2 separate regions of the Homo sapiens genome follow, and region 1 is linked to region 2. Evidence: promoter capture Hi-C in 16 types of primary human blood cells and fetal thymus (Javierre and others, 2016). All regions are on one chromosome and are shown on one strand. Each heading gives the region's core, a stretch centred on a gene start or on the middle of the fragment in contact. The rest is flanking DNA. Distances are from core to core; before and after follow the strand shown.

Evidence for each region. The method cuts DNA at HindIII sites, captures the fragments that hold promoters and counts their contacts. A CHiCAGO score of 5 or more calls a contact.
Region 1: a contact is called between a fragment that was not itself captured here and the fragment with the promoter of MACC1 in region 2, in 3 of 17 cell types (fetal thymus, erythroblasts and total B cells). The highest score is 7.9, in fetal thymus.

The regions. Positions count from the first base shown.
Region 1 is chr7:19,701,981-19,707,251 of GRCh38, reverse strand. It overlaps POLR1F (RNA polymerase I subunit F), which reads left to right. Exons shown (of 4, transcript NM_001002926.2): 2 at 2,332-2,473. It overlaps MIR3146 (microRNA 3146), which reads left to right and starts at 1,816; the gene lies at 1,816-1,894. The HindIII fragment of the contact is 2,320 bases long and covers 2,470-4,789 here.
Region 2 is chr7:20,214,597-20,219,901 of GRCh38, reverse strand. MACC1 (MET transcriptional regulator MACC1) reads left to right here and starts at 2,518. Exons shown (of 7, transcript NM_182762.4): 1 at 2,518-2,603. It overlaps GIRGL (glutamine insufficiency regulator of glutaminase lncRNA), which reads right to left and starts at 2,325. Exons shown (of 4, transcript NR_134569.1): 1 at 2,280-2,325; 2 at 1,539-1,646; 3 at 146-319. RefSeq lists enhancers at 1-8, 1-74, 1,494-2,693. The HindIII fragment of the contact is 5,395 bases long and covers 1-2,584 here.

The sequences.
Region 1 (5,271 bases), core at 2,380-4,879, 510 kb after region 2:
GTCCCTGGCATATCAGATTTGCAGTTTAAGAAACAACATTTACTTAATGGTTAGCTACCAAATAGGATGAGAAAGTGGACAAGGAGAGGAATTAAGATAATGTTATAATTGTCCAAGAGAAAATGATTAGAGAGGATGGATTTGAGAAATTAAAGGATATACAAAGTAGTCATAACATTTGGAAACACAAGCAACTATCTTGTTTTCTGTAACCAGTACTGCCTGCACTTGACAGGCTAGAGGGGGAAATCACGCAGAGTGGCTCTGAACAGATCTGGACACCACTCCTTCCATATTACTTGGGTATGCTGTTTATTCAAGTGCAAATCAGGCACCACACTTTGAACTATGCATTACTAATAAGGGACAAAACATTGAACATATAGTATTAAAGAACTGAAGTGAGGCTACCACCTTGCCCTGATACCTATTTAGGATGGTATCTGAAAAACAAAAGTGAAGGAGGAAAAAGTATATAGTGTTGGGTGCCTGTGTTCACATATCTGATGACTTTTAACAAAATCCCCCTTGAATTTATATACTGCTAAGTTCCTGAAAATTTTAATATATATTAAAACTGTGCAAAGATGACTTTGTGTTGATGTGTTTTAAGAGTTAAATTAGGTGCCTAGCTATTTGTAAATAGATTTGTCCTTTTATTCAAAAGTCAGAGCGAAGGACATTTCCTCATTGTATCAGACTGTCCTGTACATGACAGACTCTTTTCTTCCCTGGCTTCTGCAAAGTTTGTGATAACCATGACTAGTATCACAAATTTCCACATGTCCCCCCTTCCACCAGGGGACCACAGCCCTCCTTCCCCTTGAGAATCACTCTGATACTTGAGAGACAAGGCTTTGATTAGCGGAAATAAAGTCTTGATAATTTGTTTTTCTGTCTAGTATGGCAGTTAATTTTTCTTCCTATTCTCTGTTTTCTGTGTCCCTAACATTGTCTTAGTGATAGGATGATTCCAGCTTAGGAATGCCACATGCGGAAATTAAAACCTCAGAAAATTGCTTTCCCGAGTAAGTCTCTGAGTTAGGGTTTTCCTAATTTGGTAATTCTTAAAGTGTATTTTCTGTGGCTTCTGGCTGTTTTACTAAACAACATCTGTTAGGGATAAATTCTTTCCCTTATTTTATGTGAATTGTTAGAAGTTTGAGTTCAACAAAAAATATTCTTTGCTATCAAAGGCCTTAGAGTCATGTGTGAAATTCAAACATATATACAGATAGGTTCAATACAATTAGATTAAGAACAGTGAGAAAGTTGGCCTATAGGAGTAGAGGAATGATTTCAGCTTTGCCTGGGGGAGTCAGGGAAGTTTTCTCCAACAAGTAGTGGGTGTGGTAATGAAGCCACCAGGTTTTGTTTGTTTTGTTGTTTTTTGTTCCTTTGTTTGAGATGGAGTCTCCCTCTGTCGCTCAGGCTGGAGTGCAGTGCTGAGATCTCAGCTCACCACACCCTCCGCCTCCCACCACTAGGTCTTTCTCCTTAATAGTTATAATTCCTTAAAAGCTAAGAAATAACAGTTTGAAAAATAGTTGTCCCTTAATCATGACTGTTACATTTGTAGACTAAAGTGTCAGTCAGTTCCTAAATAATGTAGTTGTATTAACATTTGCATTTACTATCAACAGTTGAAGTTTGGGATTTTCTCTATTAAGTCATTGACTTTAAAATTCAGGGGCTTCAGCTTTAACCGTAATGCTTCCCTTGTTATACGCCGTCAAGTACTGAAATTCAGTAATGGTGAATAATACCAAAATTGCCTCTTATTCAGTCATGTCCACAGAGATACACATTTTCTTTGCTAAGTCCCTTCTTTCTATCCTAGTATAACTTGAAGAATTCAAATAGTCATGCTAGGATAGAAAGAATGGGACTTGGCCAGGGAAGAAGAGTTGATTTACTGCTAATGCATTAATTGGGCATTTTGTTTCTGTGTATCTTGAGTCATCATTTTAACTTAGCCAACACATCAGAATCCATTGGTGAAATGGGACTACTAAAGTTGTTACAGACTAATCATATACTATTGTTTTTGACATAGGTGGTGTATTTAGGAGATGTGTAAGTTTTGGATAGAATATCTAATCAGTATGAAAATGGCCTGGTTTGAAAGAGTGCAGTGGTGCACACCTATAATCTCAGCACTTTGGGAGGCTGAGGCAGAAGGATCAATTGAGCCCAGGAGGTCGAGGCTGCAGTGAGCCCTGTTGATGTCACTGCACCCTATCCTGGGTGACAGAGCAAGACCCTGTCTCCAAAAACATAAATAAATAAAAGACGATAAAAGGTATCATTTTCAACTTTTTCTTTTTACAGCCTTTTAGGTGTCCCTATTGCATATGATAACATCAAAGTTGTGGGAGAGCTTGGAGATATTTATGATGATCAAGGACACATTCATCTTAACATTGAAGCCGATTTTGTTATTTTCTGCCCTGAACCAGGGCAGAAGCTTATGGTATGTGTATCACTTTTTTCTAGCTCCCTTTGTATAATTCTATAATTATGTAACTTGGAACATTTTAAGAGATAATATATACCTTGGGACTCAAATAAATTGCTATTGTGAGTAAATAAATATTATTTTTAAGGAAAAATTAATTTGTATCATTCAAACGTAGGTAAGTTTTTGAATATCCTCCTAAAACACATACATGCACACGATATATGTCCCATCCACTTTATTCTTTTCATAGTAGCAGAATGATTTTAAGGGCAAAAAAATCAATTATCATTATTATTTCAAAAGTTCTCAATTCTACACAAATACTATTTCTTTATAAAGGATTCAAAGAATATAGCAGTATATGAAACAGGAATTCAAATGGGCCAGGCAGTAATGAAAATTTATCAATGACAGAGGACAGGGCAGCCAGTCTGTGCCTTGGAAATGGAAGCTCTGTGGGAAAGGTCTTCCAGTTTTTCATAAGCTGGAAATGCAGATATTGATACAAAATCTGCTGAAATAGATCCTTTTTTACTCTTTACTTTCTCCTCTCTTCCTCCAGCAGTTCTCTGTGTGTATACACATGTTCGTATGTATACTTGTATGTGTGTGTATATGTTCTTTTCCTTAGCTGATAAATATTTTAATAGATCAGAACTGTTAACCCTTGATATTGTTCATAAAAATATAGATCAATTTAACCATGACAAAACCCACAAGACACTTCCAATTTTTTTCATTTTTCAATATCAAATTAATACAAGTAGTATCCTTTGCCTGTTAAACTGGGATCTTATAACTGGACTACTAAAGTTGGCAGTAGATTTGTATTTGGAAATTAACAAACTTAACTTTCATCTACTTTGTGTAAATTATTATTTTAAATATAAACATGTAGGCCAGCCACAGTGGCTCACACCTACAATCACAGCATTTTGGGAAGCTGAGGCAGGAGGATCACTTGAGGCCAGGAGTTTAAGACCAACGTGGGCAACATAGTGAGACCTCATCTCTACACAAAATAAAAAATTAGCCAGTCATGGTGGCATGCATCTGTAGTCCCAGTTACTCAGGAGGCTGGGGTAGGAGGATCACCTGAGCCCAGGGGTTCAAGGCTGCAGTGAGCTATGATTGCGCCAATGCATTCCAGCCTAGGCAACAGTGAGACCCTGTCTGTAAAAATACACACACACATACACGGAAATAACATATATACATGTACATGGAAATAACAGATTGTAGAAAAAGTATGAAATGAAAAATATCCCTTTTAATCTACCTACTACAAGATCCACTCCTCAAATATTTTTGACCACCCACTTTTCCTTCAATTATTATTATTAATATTTGGTGAGATAAAATTTACATATAATAAAATGCACAGATCATATTGTTCAGTTCAGTGAATTTCGTCAGGTCTGTATACCATTCCATCTCCTTAGAAAGGATCTTCATGCCCTTTCCTGGCCCAATTCCTTCTCTTTATTGCAGATATAATTACTCTTCTGATTTTATCATAAGTTGGTTTTGCTTATTCTATAGTTCCATATTAATGGAATTATTCATTATACATTCTTAAAATCTGCCGCCTTTTGATCAGCATGTTTTTGAGTTTCATCCATGCTGTTGTGTGTATTGGTAGTTTGTTCCTTTTTATTGCTCATGGTATTCAGTTATATGACTATATCACAATATAATTATCTGTCTTCATTGATGGATTGATTCCAGGCTGGGGCTTTTATGAATAAAGCTATTGAAAACATATATTTTCAGACATATGAATGAAAACATACATTTTCATTTCTCTTAAGTAAATAACTAGAAGCAGAAGAGCTAGTTCACAGGGTATTTATATAAAACCATTGTCAGACTGATTTCCCATTCAACACTTCATTTACTCTGTATCGTTATTAACATTTGCTATTGTCCTTTAATTGTACTGATGGGCATATAGTAGTATCTCATTATGGTTTTAATTTGCATTTCCGTTTCCCTCATAAGCAATTTTTCATATATTTCAGTAAGAAGGGCCTGTTCAAGTATTTTGCCCATTTTTAATTGGGTTTTTGTATTTTTATTATTGACTTATAGCAGTTCTTTTTAGTCTTAAAATGAATTCTTTTCAGATAAGTATTTTGAATATTTTCTTCCAATCTGTGACTTGTCTGTTAACTTGTAATGGTATTATTTGATGAACAGTTACTTTTAATTTTGATGAGGTCCAATTTATCATTTTATATGTTTATGACTATTGCTTTCTGGACCCTATCAAAGAAATTTGTCTGCCGAAAAGTTGTGCAGATACTGTTCTGTCGACTTCTACAAGCTTTTAGTTTTAGCTTTTCCATTTAAGTCTGTGATCATTCTCAAATAATTTTTGTGTGTAGTGTGAGGTAGGCCTTGAGATCCACTCTCTCCTTCATGTAGCTTTCCCGTTGTTCTGGATTCATATATTAAAAAACCTTTTCTTTCATTGATTTTCTGAAATTGACATATTTTTAACAGCAGTTTTAGGTTTACAGAAAAATTGAATGGAGAGTATAGAGTTCCCATATAACCACCCCCTTTCCCCTATTATCAACATTAACTTGCATTAGTATGGTGCATTTGTTACCATTTTTGTGCCAATATTGATACATTATTATCAAGTAAAGTCTGTAGTTTACATTAGAGTTCAGTCTTTGTGTTGTACATTCTATGAGTTTCCACAAATGTGTCATGGCATTTATTGAGGTATTGCTCCTCACAAGAGGGCATTAGCTGCGGGGGTCTGCCTGCAGACCTTGACCTAAAAGATGGATGAATGAAAC
Region 2 (5,305 bases), core at 1,269-3,768:
ATGTTGGTTGTGACCATTGCGTAAGTCAGTACAAGAAACATGGTAGGGGTAAGGAGGTCAGAAGAGACTTTCTTAAGGAAGTGATCCTGAGCCATGTGCTGAGGATGAGCTAAGGCCCCAACTTTACATAGCTGGTGATACTCACACAAGCAGGCTAAGGGGCCTCCAGTCCTTATGACATAATTAGAGGAGAGCTGGGAGGAATTTCCAGACAACAGCCACCTTCACCAGCCAGCCCTTTTGTCTGATGGTCCACACAAAACTCATTGTATGAGTCAGCAGGATCTAGAAGGTTCACTTCCTCCACAGTGGCCGACAGCTAGAAGACACAGCAGAGCATGTGGGGACCAGGAGAATCCCATAGAGGCAGAGGTGTGAGGAACTAGCAACTGTGGAAAGAATTCCCTTCCCTGAGGGAGGAGATCAGTGGTTAAGAACTATTTAAATAGTCCAAAGTGCACAGTTTAATCTTTAGAGCCCGTAGATTAGATAATAGGAGAAGGGATCCATAAATGCTGGAGCTGATAATCAAAAATCATAGATAGAGGTAGGGCCAGGTTTCCAGGACCATGGGACTGAGGACTCTAGGGAGCCCAGTCCTTGGGGAGCTGTTAGAAAGGCAAGTGCACAGCAGGGATTGGAGCTGGTAAACAGTGAGTGCTGACCCACTAGGGCTTTCATTTCGGGTACTGTCAAGGGTTCAATTGCTAGATTTAATGCTTTGCCTTTCTGCAAATAAAGGCTGTGGGAGCCACACCAGACCAGACTGCAGGGGGATTCTGATAACAGTACTCATGCATGGCATTTAGGTAGCTTTTTAAATGTAAATGTTTTCCGGGAGACATAAAGATGGCATTAGGCATTAACACACACACACCTTAGAGTTAACATCTCAGTTATTTTATGTGTTGATTGTTTATCACAAACATCTACTTGTACATTAATGAGTTAATGAAGTAGGGATACAATGAGGCCTTGCCTTCAAATAGGAATGTAAGACTGCATAGGTACACACACACCCATGTAAACCAATGAAATGAGATATACAATGTGTTATGAGAGGAGCAGATGCAATATTATGAAATTGATTAGGAGGAAGAGAATAACTCAGATTAAGACAAACTGAGAAGGACATCTTGAAGAGTGTTTTTCATTGAGCTTTGGAAAAAATGAAATCTCTGAACATTTCAAGATGAGCAAAAATGGTTTCAGGGAGGAGAAATGCCATGCAGAATGCCCTCTGTAGGGTTTGGGGAAATTAAGAACCATTTGTTTTGGAAATAATATAATGACATAAAGGAAAGCTAGGTTCTAGTAGAGAGTTGAGGAACCTGTGACAAAAAGAAACAGAACAGCTCAGTTTGGATTGTGGGATGAGTCAAGGGGAAACTTCAAAGGGAATCTGGGTGGATTAGGTGATCTGGCAGCATGAAGCCAGGGATGCATCAGGGAGGAAGGGGTGGTTAGAACAGTAGGAGAGAAAGTGCAGAAAAGGGAAAGGAAACTTTTTCTTTGTCACCATTCTGCCATCTACTTACATTAGATGAATCCTTCTATTATGTTTCTGAACCCAGACCCAGCCAGGACTTGTCTCTATTCATTTTCTGGGCTGTGTCTAACAGGAGATAATAGGCTAGAGAGAGATGCTGTATGAACAAATAGAGAAACACATTTGTTTTAAACATTCTCTGTTGCTGATGTTGGAAAAAAATGTGAAACAATTATTGCACATTTCATTTCACTAAGTTTTACCTTTTTTCCCCTTTCCCCTAATTTTCTCTTTCTTGAATTTTGAACAAAATACACAGAAGGAAAACACAAAACACAGAAATGGAAAGTAAAATGGAAGAAAATATCAAGAAAACTTTATTCTTGCTTATATTTTAAAAGGCACATTTTAAAGTGTTATCTTAAAAATCCAGAGCATTTTAGAAGATGAAATGCCAAAAGGTCTCCATTATGTCTATATGTCTATGTCTTTGAGTGACAATCACAGTGCTGATGTAGAGGGAAAGGGGGAACTAGTTAGACACTGTCACTCACCTGGGAAGGCTTTATTCACCTGTTCCACAGGGCAGTGAGGCACCTTCAGCTCTGAATCACCGAAAGAGAATCTGGTGGGGCAAGTTCCAGCTGCATGAGGATTTGCTTGCATAAATATTTTTTACTTATTGCTAACACTGAGGGTGCCTTCTTACTCCCTGGCAAACATTAAACCACTTTTATTTCCTTTCATGGAAATAAGATTATATTTACAGATGGTTCTTAGATATACTCACCTGATTTTTTTTTAATTGCTTTTCCACCTGCTTCCCCTTTCTTCTTAGGGTGAAACTCTAGCCATACGCCCTCTTCTGGTTTCGGGTGAGGAGCCTGAATTGTGGGTATCGTAGTTCTCTTGCCTTTTGGGGTTTCTAGTTGGGCAGCTTTGGAGCCACAGTGGTAGAACTTCAAGTCCCAGGTGGCTCAGGAAGCAGGGGTGCAGTTGCCTGCCTGCATACGGAGCAAGGCATGTTTGAAGAGTACCCGGGTTTGGTAGAGTGACTTCTATTCACTAAAACCATGTGTCTGAACTGAAGAAGCTTGGGCTCACTTCCACAAATGTAAGTGCTGATTTTTTAAAAATAATATTCCTTTCACTATTGATATGTGCTACACACTAGGAAGTTGTATAATTTCCAGAAAAATGTAACAAACCAGCTGCTTAACAAATCAAGCCCTGCTTAAATAAAGGGAAGGTAACTGGTATTCTGTGGGCTTATGGGACATGTGTTAGAATAAACCTCATGACATAGAATAGAATAATACCTTGAGACATGGTTTAGAATAAAGTAGTTTATTTTAAAAAAAAGGAGGAACCCAGGTCACATTAACCATCAAAGGCAAAAACAAAACACTCTATGAGTTGCTTAAAATATGTAGATGGCTGAAATCCCCTAAAAACTTTAAATATCTCAAAAAGCATACAGGTATGTTAAAAAGACTGTGCTTTGAAGATAGATAAAGTTGCAATCAGCAGCCCCACTGCTTATTAGATTTATGACCATTGACAAGATGTTTCACCTCGCAAAGTCTCAGTTTCCTCATCTGTAAAGTGTGTGTGCATAACCTACCTCATTAGGTTAATAGCATTAAATTATGAATAAAAGATAATCATGTAATTAAGTTAAGGGGGTCATTAAATTAGCACAGTGCATTGTACTGAATAGACAGATGATACATGATGGAGGGTAACTTGGCTTCATCCTAATTAAGTTTCAATTAAGCTTGGAAAACACACCAAAGAAACAAAAAGACAAATACTGGATGATTCAACTTACCTGAGGTATCTGGAGTAGTCAAACTCACATAAATGATACTTAGAATGGTAGTTGCCAGGGGCTTGGGGGAAGGAGAAATGAGAGTTGTTTAATGGATATAGAGTTTCAGTTTACAAGATGAAAACACTTGGAGACTGTACAATAATGTAAATATATTTAATACTATTGAACTTAAAATTTGTAAGTGTAAACACTTACAAATGGTTAGGATGGTAAATTGTATGTTAAGTTTTTTACCACAATTAATAAAGATAGATTTTAAAAAATTTATTTTTAAGATCAAAAAGCATGTAGTGAAAATTCCAATGCCTTCCATTTATTAAAGGTCTTCCTAATTTCCTAAAAATGTCTTAAGTCTATATTCAGTGGGTCTAATTTAGGATTGATATTGACTTATCTATGTTAATGTCTGGTTTTTACATAGCAATTACTGGGTGATAATGATGAATTTCAGGTATATTCTTAAAGTTGTCTTAACCTCAGTGGTGATTCTTTTATGCCCCCCTGAACTTAATTACATGATTATCTTTTATTCATAATAGCGATTTTTAATATGATTTCATGGGTAGTGTACAGAATCTAGAAATTATGAAGTCATAATTATTAGTTACAATTTGCTTAAAAGCTTTAGTTATGACTCATTTTTAAAACTTAAAGCAAAAATATTATTTATTCCAGTTTTCTCAACTTCCTTGTAGCTAATTTACAAATAGAATATTTTTATCTGTTTGTGTTTTAGAGATAATAAAAACTATTAAGGCAAAGTTTGTTAAACACCATCTTATCTTAAAATGTATTGGCTGATTTGGAGGACAAAAGACATTTTGGAATTATACTAATTTTGAACTTGAAGACATGTCTGTTGAATTTTTAGAGAATTCTTTCTTGAAAGACCACACATATGCCTAGGTGTCTATTAAGACTAAACATCCCTTATGGCATTTGGTGATAAGTGAAGGTGATAACAACCAGCATTTCAGATGACTGTGCAGAGTTTTACATGTGATATGCCATATATTAATAAATGTAAACCCTATGTCAGCAAGTCCAGGATAGAATTAGAATGAAACTTGTAATTCTCCAAAGGTGGAGGAAAGCTGCAGAGGCACTGAACACTGTATACTTCTAAAAGGGTGGCTTTTTTTGTTGTTGTCAAGTGCCGTCTATGGTGTAGTGTCTCTAGGAAGTGTCATTCATTCAATTGACAAAGATTTCTAGCAATCCTGCAATATACTCCCCCTGGGCTGGGTTTAGAGGCTAGAAGAAACTCATGCACAGCCCTTGAGGGGATCCTTATCTACTAGCAGAGATATGACCTCATAAATAGTTAAAGAGAGTAAGTGCTAATTCATTAGTCATTCATGCTGTTCATAGAGTCACTCCACAGAAAGTGTGATGCTCAGTATCAGGGGATTAAAAAGACACCTTCAAAAACCTTTCTTTCAACTATAATTACTGGAGACCAAATAAATAAATAAATAAATAAATAAATAAATAAATAAACTTGAGATGTATATGAGTCATTCAGAAGCAGAGTGGAGTGACTTCCTAAAACACAGAAGAGACGCGTACCCAGGCTGCCAGAGGAAGGGGCAGTCACAGTGCCCTGAATTTCAAGAGGACATTGTGGGAGGTGGTGGAACTTTAAGCAGGCCTGGAAAAATGTGCAGAGTTGAGATGGGCAGGAAAAGGTCATGAAAGTATCTCACGTACAGCAGTGTTTTCCAAACTTTCGCACATTAAATGATTTTCGGAAACATATGGACTGATCAATCAATAACAATAACATTAAGATTACAGATTGAGAAAGTTATATTTTTTGACTTAGTTTCAATTCTTCAGAAATAAGTTTTGTTGTTTTTGATATGACTTAAACTTCTCCAAACACTTGTTTAAGCTTCCTTTATAACACTCACAGAATAAGCAATAAATGTTAGTAGGCAAAAAGTACTTAGTTTAATTTAATTACTGCTTTAAAATAACAT